2 separate regions of the Homo sapiens genome follow, and region 1 is linked to region 2. The links are contacts of gene promoters, found by promoter capture Hi-C in human tissues and cell types (Jung and others, 2019). All regions are on one chromosome and are shown on one strand. The core of a region is centred on a gene start or on the middle of the fragment in contact, and the rest is flanking DNA. Distances in the headings are between cores, read along the strand shown. Region 1 holds the start of CALML6 (calmodulin like 6). Region 2 holds the start of ISG15 (ISG15 ubiquitin like modifier).

Region 1 (5,811 bases), core at 1,872-4,371, 900 kb after region 2:
CTGATTTAAATACTTTTTCTTTTTTTTTTTGAGGTGGAGTCTCGCTCTGTCTCTCAGGCTGGAGTGCAGTGGCACGATCTCGGCTCACTGCAAGCTCTGCCTCCTTGGGGTTCACGCCATTCTCCTGCCTCAGTCTCCCAAGTAGCTGGGACTACAGGCGCGCACCACCATGCCCAGCTAATTTTTTTATTTTTATTTTTAGTAGAGACGGCATTTCACCATGTTAGCCAGGATGGTCTCGATCTCCTGACCTTGTGATCTCCCTGCCTCGGTCCCCCAAAGTGCTGGGATTACAGGCATGAGCCACCATGCCCGGCCTACTGATTTAAATACTAATCACATCTATGAAACACCTTCATGCCCGCCCATATTCATTGCAGCAGCAGTTCCAACAGCCAAGAGGTGGGAGCACCTAAGTGTTCATCAGCAGATGGTGGATAAACCGAGTGTGGTCCATCCCGAGAATAACATTTTACTCAGCCTTAAAAAAGACGCCTATTCCAGGCCGAGTGCGGTGGCTCATGCCTGTAATCTCAGCACTTTGTGAGGCCCAGGTGGGCGGATCACAAGGTAAGGAGATCGAGACGATCCTGGCTAACACGGTGAAACCCCGTCTCTAGTAAAAGTATAAAAAATTAGCCGGACTTGGTGGTGGGTGCCTGTAGTCCCAGCTACTCGGGAGGCTGAGGCAAGAGAATTGCTTGACCTGGGAGGCAGAGGTTGCAGTGAGCTGAGATCGCGCCACTGCACTCCAGCCTGGAGATAGAGCGGGACTCTGCCTCAAAAAAAAAAAAAAAAAAAAAGTCGAATTCTTTTTTTTTTTTTTGGAGATGGAGTCTCACTCTGTCACCCGGGCTGGGGTGCAGTGGCGCAATCTCGGCTCACTGCATCCTCCACCTCCCAGGTTCAAGCAATTCTCTGCCTCAGCCTCCTGAGTAGCTGGGATTACAGGCACCTGCCACCACGCCCGGCTAATTTTTTTATTTTTTTATTTTTTTTAGTAGAAACAGGGTGTAACCATCTTGGCCAGGCTGGTCTTGAACTCCTGACCTTGTGATCCACCCACCTCGGCCTCCCAAAGTGCTGGGATTACAGGCGTGAGCCACCACACCCGGCCCCCGGAGTCGAATTCTTAAAAACAGAAAGTAGAATAGTGATTGCCATAGGCTGGGGGGCGGGGGGTGGTGGAAGAGGGCAGATGCTGTTTAATGGGGGCGGGGGTCCGTTTTGCAAGGTGAAAGGTTCTAGAGATCTGCTGCATAACTGGGTACGGCCATGAACACAACTGCACTTGCACCTGAACGTGGCTGAGGCAGCATTCTAATTGTTACAGGGTTTTTCTCTTTTTCTGTTTTCTTTTCTTTTCTTTTTTTTTTTTGAGATGGAGTCTCGCTCTGTTGCCCAGGCTGGAGTGCAGTGGCGCGATCTCGCCTCACTGCAAGGTCTGCCTCCTGGGTTCACGCCATTCTCCTGCCTCAGCCTCCGGAGAAGCTGGGACTACAGGTGTCTACCACCACGCCTGGCTAATTTTTTTGTATTTTTTTTAGTACAGTCGGGGTTTCACTGTGTTAGCCAGGATGGTCTCGATCTCCTGACCTCGTGATCTGCCCGCCTCAGCCTCCCAAAGTGCTGGGATTACAGGCGTGAGCCACCGTGCCCAGCCTCTTTTTCTGTTTTCTTATGGAGAATAGCCCTTCGGTGATCAGAAGAGACACAAGAAGGAAAATAAAGATTGGATGAGTCTCAGGTCCTAGAGATACGGGGTATGTCCGAAGGCCACACAGAGGCTGGTCAGCATGAGGAGAGAGGGTTAGAGGGCGAGGACCTGTTCTGCTGCTTGTACTGGGTCTTGGATATGGGTAGAAGCCTAGATGGAGAGGAGAGAGGTTGATGGTGGTTGTGGCCATGTTGCCCCTTCCTACGGGCGGGGCGGGGGGTGTGCCCTCTGCTTTAAGTTGGGCTCCAGGGGTCACAGCTTTGAGTTTCACTCGTAAGCCCATCAGGATGTCTGGAACCTTCAGGGCTGTGGCCCAGGAATGTCAGACGCTGGAAGCCTGGGAACGGAGGAGGCAGAGCCTGCTGTCCACTGGCTGTGAGAGTTGTTGGGGTGGGGACTTGTCCAGGGCCACGAGGCCAGTGCAGTTCTCTGTGTCTCTGTACCCAGCTGGCCTGTACCTGGAGACCCTGAGCCAGAACCCAGGATGGGCCCTGGCCTGGGTGCTGCGGCTCCCTCCATTCTATGCCCCTGGGGGAAGGTGCTCAGTGCGTGAATTGTTCCCTGCCCCAGCCCAGGGGAAAGCTGAGGCCAGGGAGCAGCCAGGATGAAGGTCAGGGCCTCCCTTGGCCCCACCAGACCCAGGGCCGCTTCCCTCCAGCCCCGGCTCCCGTTTGGCTGGAGGTGCCCTGGGCCATTGGCCTGCCCTCGTCAGCGTCAATCTTGCAGTCTCAGCAGCTGGCCTGGGTTTCAGCGGGAGCCATCCTGTAGCTGCAGGTTTGCTGGCAGGCAGAGGGTTGGGCTGGCGGGGGACACTGAGTGCCCCACCTGCTCAGACTCTTCATGCCATCAAGGGGCCAGTCGGGGGGCAGGTGTGAGTGTGACCCTGAGGGCCCTGACCTGCCACTGCAATCCTCACACTCTTGCCTGGGTGGGGCAGGGAGGAGCTGGACCCTGGCTTTGGGAGTCTGGTGGGTAATTAGACCCAGACAGGGAGGGCTCAGTGCGGGTCTGAGGAGGGAACACACGTGTGCAGGCGTGTGCTCCACGGTGGCATGTTGATACGGACCAGCCTGGGCACCAGGCCCCCTCGGGAGCCAGCTTTGCTGTTCTGAGTGGAAGGGAGATCAGGTTTCCCTGAGAAACCCCAAAATAGCCCCCAACTGTGCCTGGCTTCCAGCGGGCAGCCCAGCCCCCAGGCCCTGTTTTGCTCCCTTTCCCCCTTCACCCCCAGCCCATGTCCTGCTGTCTCCTCCCTGAATGGTGGACCCTCAGCCCCTCCTGTACAAGATGGTCAAGCGGTGCCTCATGCATTTGTTCATTCGACCTGTCCTGAGAGTTTGTGACATGCTGGCACGGGGCCAATGTTGAGTCCACCAGGATGGGAGGGTGGCCAGGCTCTGAGCCACTGAGCACCAGCTGGCCAGGATGGGTCTTCAACAAGAAATCTCACTGGTAAGTGATGACAGCATGGGACCAGGGTCCCATGAAGACCTGCTGGAGGGCCGCACCTCTGGGAAGGTAGACTTGGAGCTTGGTCCAGTGAAGAGGGAACAGCACGGGGAACAGCGTGTGTGAGGGTCCCGCCATGTCTCAGCCCTTTCCTGGCCCCCGCACTTAGCCTTCGGTGCCCATCTTCAGGGTCAGGGGAAGCCCAGGCCAAAGCGGGCCGGGAAGGGGCCCTGTGGATAAGGCCGAGAGCCTGTCCCAAAATAGGGCCGGCAGGATTTCCCACCCATAAAAGGCTCTTGGAATCTGGACCCCGGGGACCCCAGGCAGCCAGGCCCAGCTAAAACTCAGCTGCCACCACTGCCCCAGCACTCTGCCCACAGCAGCCCTGGTGTCACCACCCTGCAGAATCCTGTCAGACAACCACCGACATGGTAAGGCTGCTCTCTGTGCCCGATGGAGTCTCTGGTGGGCTGGCTGGGTAGGTTGAGCTGGAACCTGGAGGTGCAATGACCTGCCACGGAGCCTGGGCAGGAAGGGGCTGAGGTAGAAGAGGGGGCCAAGCCCTGCTGCCACCAACACAGCCCTTGTTCCGGGGCCAGGGTGGAGCAGCCCTTTCTGAAAGCTGGCTCCCAGATGGGCAGCAGCAGTGGTGGCAGGCAGGTGTGGCCCGGTGCTGGACTCTCCCTCCGGAATGCCACACAGGCTGGAGCCCAGGGTTCTGCTTCCTGGGCTGTATCCCAATCCTGGGCTGGAAGCCTTTCCCGGGCCAGGGCTGGGCTCCTCCCCACCCTGCTCTCGGCTTCCTTCACCTGCCTCACCTGGTGTCCATTGCCAGGCTCCAGGGCCGCTGCCTGGCCCGCCTGGCCCTGCAGCTGCTGCTGTTCCCTCGCACGCTGGCTCCTGCCTGTCTGGCCCTTGCCCCTGTTAGCTGCCTGGCAGAGCCCTGCTGGCCCTGCAAACCCCTGGCGTGTGACCCCTTGTCCTGGAAGCCTGCTCTCCGCTGGGGGCCTCCTCTCTTACCACTCACCTTGAAAGGCTGCCAATGGAGGAATGGGTGCAGGGGGTACCTCTGACCCTTCCCTGGACACAGGGGCAGAAGGGGCTCCTGGTCAGGCCGGTGCGGGTGTCCCCTGCAGACAGAGCGCCTGTCGGCTGAGCAGATCAAGGAGTACAAGGGAGTCTTTGAGATGTTCGACGAAGAGGGCAACGGGGAGGTGAAGACGGGGGAGCTGGAGTGGCTCATGAGCCTGCTGGGTATCAACCCCACCAAGAGTGAGCTGGCCTCAATGGCCAAGGATGTGGACAGAGACAGTGAGCTCATGGCTGGAGTGGGGTGGGCAGCCTCGGGGGGGCCCTGGGTCAGGTGTCAGTGCCTACGGGGGGAAGAGGCAAAGCCCATGGGGAGTGCTGTGCCCCATCCCTTGAGCCCCAGCTGTGCCCCTTGCAGACAAAGGGTTCTTCAACTGCGATGGTTTCCTGGCACTAATGGGAGTTTACCATGAGAAGGCCCAGAACCAGGAGAGCGAGCTGAGGGCGGCATTCCGTGTCTTTGACAAAGAGGGCAAGGGCTACATTGACTGGAACACACTCAAGTAGGGCCCGGGTTGGGGGCGGGTGGTGGGCGGGCACGGGCAGGGCCGATGGAGTGGCTCAGCGCCAGGCCCCGTAGGTACGTGCTAATGAACGCAGGGGAGCCCCTCAACGAGGTGGAGGCGGAGCAGATGATGAAGGAGGCCGACAAGGATGGGGACAGGACCATCGACTATGAGGGTGAGTGGCCTGGAGCCCTGGGAGCCGTTGGCTGGGCCGGGGCAAGCTGCTGACCTGCCCCTCTGTTCCCAGAGTTTGTGGCCATGATGACGGGGGAGTCCTTCAAGCTGATCCAGTAGGTGCAGCTGCCGCAGCCGGGGGAGGCCTGCCCGGGAAGGCTGCTGCCCCTGCCCCCTGGCCCCCACTCCCCCGGCTCCGTGTAAAATAAATGTTCCAGCCCAACCTGTGTGTGCCTCACTGTCCCAGCCTGGGTTGGGGGGCAACAGGCAAAGGCGTGGGGCTGGAGAAGGAAAAGAGTTTTCCTGGCCCAGTCACAGAAACAGCCCCAGTCATTTCTGCCACGACACCTGACACCACCCATTGCCCAGCTCAGGGCTAGGAATGCCAGCCTGAAACCTGGACTGGGTACAGGCCGGGGACCACACGCTCGCCCTTCCTGCTTGCACTGGGGGTTGGCTGCCCAAGGGTTCCTCCCAGAGCCCTGGAGTCCCAGAGTCCTTCCCACATAGGCAGAGACCACTTAAATACAAACTTTATTCTCTCTCCAAGAAGATGCAGACGTCACAGGTGGCCCTGAGCTCCCACCCGAGGCTTAGGCCCAAGGGGCCTCTTCCAGGCTGAGGGCCTGCTGGGGCTGGGCCAGGGGCTGAGGCTGAAAGCAGCAGCCTGCCTAGTGGGTGACGCCAGGGGCCGGTGTAACATGGCACCGAGGTTGGGGCCACAGCAATGTGTGGGACGGTGGGGTGGGCTGGGGCCCTTGGCTCCAAGCATTAGTTCTCCAAGCTCTGGTCCGTTCTCCTACCTCCTTCAAGGGGCACCAGGGCTACAAGGTGGTAGTTGAGTATTGGGGCCCGACTCCTGGGGCACTGGAGTGG
Region 2 (5,184 bases), core at 2,437-4,936:
GTCTCGCTCTGTCACCCAGGCTGGAGTGCAGTGGTGCGATCACAGCTCACTGCAGCCTCCACCTCCCGGGTTCAAGCTATCCTCCCACCTCAGCCTCCAAAGTAGCCAGGACTACAGGTGTGCGCCACCACGCCCGGCCAATTTTTTTATGTATTGCAGGGACAGGGTTTCACCATGTTGCCCAGGCTGGTCTCAAACTCCTGGGCTCAAGCCATCTGCCTGCCTCGGCCTCCCAAAGTCCTGGGACTGTGGTGTTTGTTTGTTTGAGACAGGGTCTTGTTCTCGTCGCCCAGGCTGGAGGGCAGTGGCGCGATCTCAGCTCACTGCAACCTCCACCTCCAGGGCTCAAGCAATTCTCCTGCCTCAGCCTCTCGAGTAGCTGGGACTACAGGTGTGAGCCACCACACCCAGCTAATTTTTGCATTTTTAGTAGAGATGGGGTTTCACCATGTTGGCTAGGCTGGTCTTGAACTCCTGACCTCAAGTGATTTGCCCGCCTCGTCCTCCCAAAGCGCTGGGATCACAGGCGTGAGCCGCCACCCCGCCTCCTCTTTGGTTTTCAGATGCTGACAATTTTGGTGACCCCTGAGATTTGCTGGGAGACGGGGAAGGGCCAGGATTCATATTCAGAATATGTTGATTTTTCACTCTTACACTTGTTTATTTAAAAATTATTTATTTATTTATTTGAATCTTATTTAAATATTTTATTTATTTGTTTATTACTGAGTCTTAGCTATCCTTCTCTTGTTATGTGCTGTGTGTAACAACAACAATTTGGGAACAGCCTAAGTATTCAGTGATGTGGGATGGGTTTTAACTAAATTAACTCTGTACTGTAACAGGCTCATTCTTCCATGGGAAACATGCAGTTGTTAAAACAACCTGCACAGATGCGTCCACCAACACGGATAGATGCGTGTTTTTGTTTTTTGGGTTTTTTTTTTTTTTTTTTGAGACAGGGTCTCGCTCTCTCACCCAGGCTGGAGTGCAGTGAAGCGATCTCGGCTCACTGCAGCCTCCGCCTCCCAGGCTCAAGTGATTCTCCTGCCTCAGCCTCCCAAGTATCTGGGATTACAGGTGCCCACCACCACGCCCAGCTAATTTTTGTATTTTTAGTAGAGATGGGGTTTCACCATGTTGGCCAGGCTGGTCTCAAACTGCTGACCTCAGGTGATCTACCCGCCTCGGTCTCTCAAAGTGCTGGGATTACAGGTGAGCCACTGCGCCCGGCCCATGCCCAGCTAATTTTTCGCATTTTTAGTAGGGACGGAGTTTCACCATATTGGCCAGGCTGGTCTTGAACTCCTGACCTCAGGTGATCTGCCTGCCTCGGCCTCCCAAAGTGCTGGGATTACAGGCGTGAGCCCCTGTACCTGGCCTTTTTTGTTGTTGTTGTATTTTTAGTAGAGATGGGGTTTCGCCATGTAGGTCAGGCTGGTCTCGAACTCCTGATCTCAAATGATCCTCCCGCCTCAGCCTCCCGAAATGCCGGCATTACAGGCATGAGCCGCCTGGCCTGGATAGATGTTTATGATACACTGTTGCATGAATGAAGCAGGTTACAAAACAGTGAAAGTATGGTGAGGCCTTTTCACCTTTGCTTTTTATTGATGTGAAATTCATATAACATAAAACTAACCATTTTAAAGAATGAAATCCAGTGGCGTTTAGTTATTTACCACGTTGTCCAACCATCACCTCTGTGGAGTTCTGAAACATTGTCACCCCCAAAGGGGCTTGTGGCTCTGAAGCAATCACCCCCCACTCCCCCTCCCTGGCCCCCGGTAACGGGGTCGGCTTCCTGTGCTGCGGCTCTACCAGTTCCGGTCGTTTCCCCTGCGGTGAATGGAACCAACACTCTGCGGCCTTCGTGTCTGGCTCTTTCCACTTAGCATAACGTTTTCAAGGTTCTTTCACATGAATCAGTGCCTCAGTCCTTTTCATGGCTGCATAATATTCCGTTGTGTGGACATTCCACACTTTGTGTGTCCATCCATCACTGATGGACATGTGCTCCGTTCCTGCTACTTGTTTATTGTAAACTGTGCTGCCATGGACATTTGTATGCAAGTATTTGAACACCTATTTTCAATTCTTTTGGACACATGCCTAGAAGTGGAACTGCTGGGTTCCCAATAATTCTGTTGAACGTTTTGAGCATCGCGGCGGCCGCACTGTTTTACATTCTCAACAGCAATGCATGTACCAGGATTCCAGTTCCTCTATGTATTCCCCAGTGCTTGTTACTGCCTTTATGTTTATTTTATATTATTTTTTGAGACTGTCTTGCTCTGCTGCCCAGGCTGGAGTGCATTGGTGCAATCTTGGCTCACCACAATCTCTGCCTCCTGGGTTCAAGGGATTCTCCCGCCTCAGCCTCCCAAGTAGCTGGGATTACAGGCGTGCACCACCACGCCCAGCTAATTTTTGTATTTTTAGTAGAGATGGGGTTTCTACTAAAAATGTTGGCCAGGCTGGTCTCAAACTCCTGACCTTAGGTGATCCGCCCGCCTCAGCCTCCCAAAGTGTTGGGATTGCAGGCGTGAGCCACCGCACCCGGCCTGGCCTTTATTTTTATTATTACAGTCATACCAGCAGGAAATAGCATCTCACTGGGGTTTTGATTTGCATTTCCCCAATTAATAATGATGTTGAACATCACTTTACAGCCGTTTCTATGTCATTGGAGAAATGTCTATTGAAGTCTTTTGGCCATTTGAAAATTGAGTTGCCTTTTTTTTTTATTTTTATTTTTTATTGAGTTGTAAGAGTTCTCTATATGTCCTGGATGCTATGCCCTCATCAGATAGATAATTTGCAAATATTTCTTCCCATTCTATGGATTGTCTTTTCACTTTCTCAATAGTGTCCCAGAGTTCATTTTTGTAGAAAATAAAAGATAGGTCTCTTTTATTAAAAAACAATCTGAGGCTCCGGGTGCAGTGGCTCACGCCTGTAATCCCAGCAGTTTCAGAGGCCGAGGCAGGTGGATCACTTGAGCCCAGGAGTTCGAGATCAGCCTGGGCGACATGGCGAGACCCCCATCTCTACTAAAAATACAAAAAATTAGCCGGGCCTGGTGGTGCACCCCTGTGGTCCCAGCTACGTGGGAGGCTGAGGTGAGAGGATCGCTTTAGCCTGGCAGGCGGAGGTTGCAATGAGATGAGATCGTGCCTCTGCACTCCAGCCTGGGCGACAGAGTGAGAGACCCTGTCTCAAAAACACAAAAACAACAACAAAAAAACACCAATCTGAGCAAATACTGCCCTAAACCGAGTGTTGTTATCTCTGGGTAGTTTGGAGTTCTTGTTTCTCAATTAACCATGGGGATGTTTTCCAAGTTTACTAATTTTGCAAGTTGGTAAATGGAAAATGAAACCATTAGTCCATGTGATGACAGCTTTAGTGCATCCTGTGAAGGATCTGGAATGCGCGATATTTAGGTGTTTCCAGGGTGTTGGGTGGGGGTGGGGATGCCGTCCGCTGTCCGGAGTCCCCGCCACTTTTGCTTTTCCCTGTCTTTCGGTCATTCGGTTTTGTTTCTTCCGCTCACTCTGGGGCATGCCTCGGGAAAGGGAAACCGAAACTGAAGCCAAATTTGGCCACCAGCGCAGGCTCGGCGGCACGCCCCCTGACGTGTGTGCCTCAGGCTTATAATAGGGCCGGTGCTGCCTGCCGAAGCCGGCGGCTGAGAGGCAGCGAACTCATCTTTGCCAGTACAGGAGCTTGTGCCGTGGCCCACAGCCCACAGCCCACAGCCATGGTAAGGCAGATGTCACAGGTGGGGGGAGGTGGGCTCTGTGCCAGCCAATTTTCGTCTCCCTCCCCCAGCCAAGGTCTCCCAGGGGTGCAGGGAGAGCGGAGCTGCTCAGAGCTTGGCCAGGTTCTAAGTGTGCTCCTGAAAGCAGGTCACCCCTGAGATCCTCAGGGTGGGGCACAGAGGGGCACCCTAGCAGGTAAAGGGAGGCCACGGGATGGCGGTGGGCAGCTGGCCTTCTAGTAACGAGCCCTCAGTGCCTTCTGTGCCTGGGGTCCCTGCCGGCGGGATGTAGAGGACAGACAGGAGGGAGCACTGTCCCTGGGTACAGGAGCTCGCCCTGCAGCCAGTGCCTTGTGTGTGGTGGGCCTGGGGCTGGCGCCGCAGTCTCTGAACCTGTGTGACGCCTGCAGGGCTGGGACCTGACGGTGAAGATGCTGGCGGGCAACGAATTCCAGGTGTCCCTGAGCAGCTCCATGTCGGTGTCAGAGCTGAAGGCGCAGATCACCCAGAAGATCGGCGTGCACGCCTTCCAGCAGCGTCTGGCTGTCCACCCGAGCGGTGTGGCGCTGCAGGACAGGGTCCCCCTTGCCAGCCAGGGCCTGGGCCCCGGCAGCACGGTCCTGCTGGTGGTGGACAAATGCGACGAACCTCTGAGCATCCTGGTGAGGAATAACAAGGGCCGCAGCAGCACCTACGAGGTACGGCTGACGCAGACCGTGGCCCACCTGAAGCAGCAAGTGAGCGGGCTGGAGGGTGTGCAGGACGACCTGTTCTGGCTGACCTTCGAGGGGAAGCCCCTGGAGGACCAGCTCCCGCTGGGGGAGTACGGCCTCAAGCCCCTGAGCACCGTGTTCATGAATCTGCGCCTGCGGGGAGGCGGCACAGAGCCTGGCGGGCGGAGCTAAGGGCCTCCACCAGCATCCGAGCAGGATCAAGGGCCGGAAATAAAGGCTGTTGTAAAGAGAAATGGCCGCCTCTGTGTCTGTGCTTGCCCCTCCTCCAGCGTCCGCCTCAGACCCCTGGTGATGGGGCGGGAGAAGTCAGGAGGGAGAACCCAGGGTCCATCCTGGTGACCAGGCCTGGGCTGCCAAGTGAAGGGATAAGGGTTTGCAGTTACAGCTTCGAGGGATCAAAATAGGGAGCCCCCCACCCCGAAACTGAAGTAAGACAGCTCTCCCCACCCTTTGGGAAATTAACTTCTAGGAAAAGAAAAAGAGACACAGTTGCTGGAGCCCATCCTGCCTGTCCTCCATCTGGGACAGCAGACGGCTTAGGCAGGGACCCGCCTGATCAGATCAAAAGGGGAGGCTCCCAGTGGGCCCCTGGGAGCAGTAAGGGGTGAGTCCTTGGGGCCTGCCCGGTGGGCTGTGAGGCAGGCTCTCCATAGGAACTGGGGGCTGGGGACCTCAGCCGTCCCTAGC

What was found. Contacts are between HindIII fragments. The study calls those that stand out against the background at their distance.
Region 1: the fragment with the promoter of CALML6 here is called in contact with the fragment with the promoter of ISG15 in region 2 in 1 of the 25 tissues and cell types used here (H1 embryonic stem cells).

Annotation. Positions count from the first base shown.
Region 1 is chr1:1,912,139-1,917,949 of GRCh38, forward strand. It overlaps CALML6 (calmodulin like 6), which reads left to right and starts at 3,122. Exons shown (of 6, transcript NM_138705.4): 1 at 3,122-3,169; 2 at 3,547-3,597; 3 at 4,303-4,477; 4 at 4,614-4,758; 5 at 4,836-4,936; 6 at 5,009-5,158. The coding sequence starts at 3,143. The coding sequence ends at 5,055. TMEM52 (transmembrane protein 52) reads right to left here. Exons shown (of 5, transcript NM_178545.4): 5 at 5,453-5,811. The coding sequence ends at 5,744. RefSeq lists an enhancer at 1,943-2,629. The HindIII fragment of the contact is 17,409 bases long and covers 1-5,811 here.
Region 2 is chr1:1,009,811-1,014,994 of GRCh38, forward strand. It overlaps ISG15 (ISG15 ubiquitin like modifier), which reads left to right and starts at 3,687. Exons shown (of 2, transcript NM_005101.4): 1 at 3,687-3,766; 2 at 4,174-4,730. The coding sequence starts at 3,764. The coding sequence ends at 4,668. RefSeq lists enhancers at 3,350-3,769, 3,657-4,548, 4,170-4,579, 4,549-5,184, 4,740-4,799. The HindIII fragment of the contact is 22,753 bases long and covers 1-5,184 here.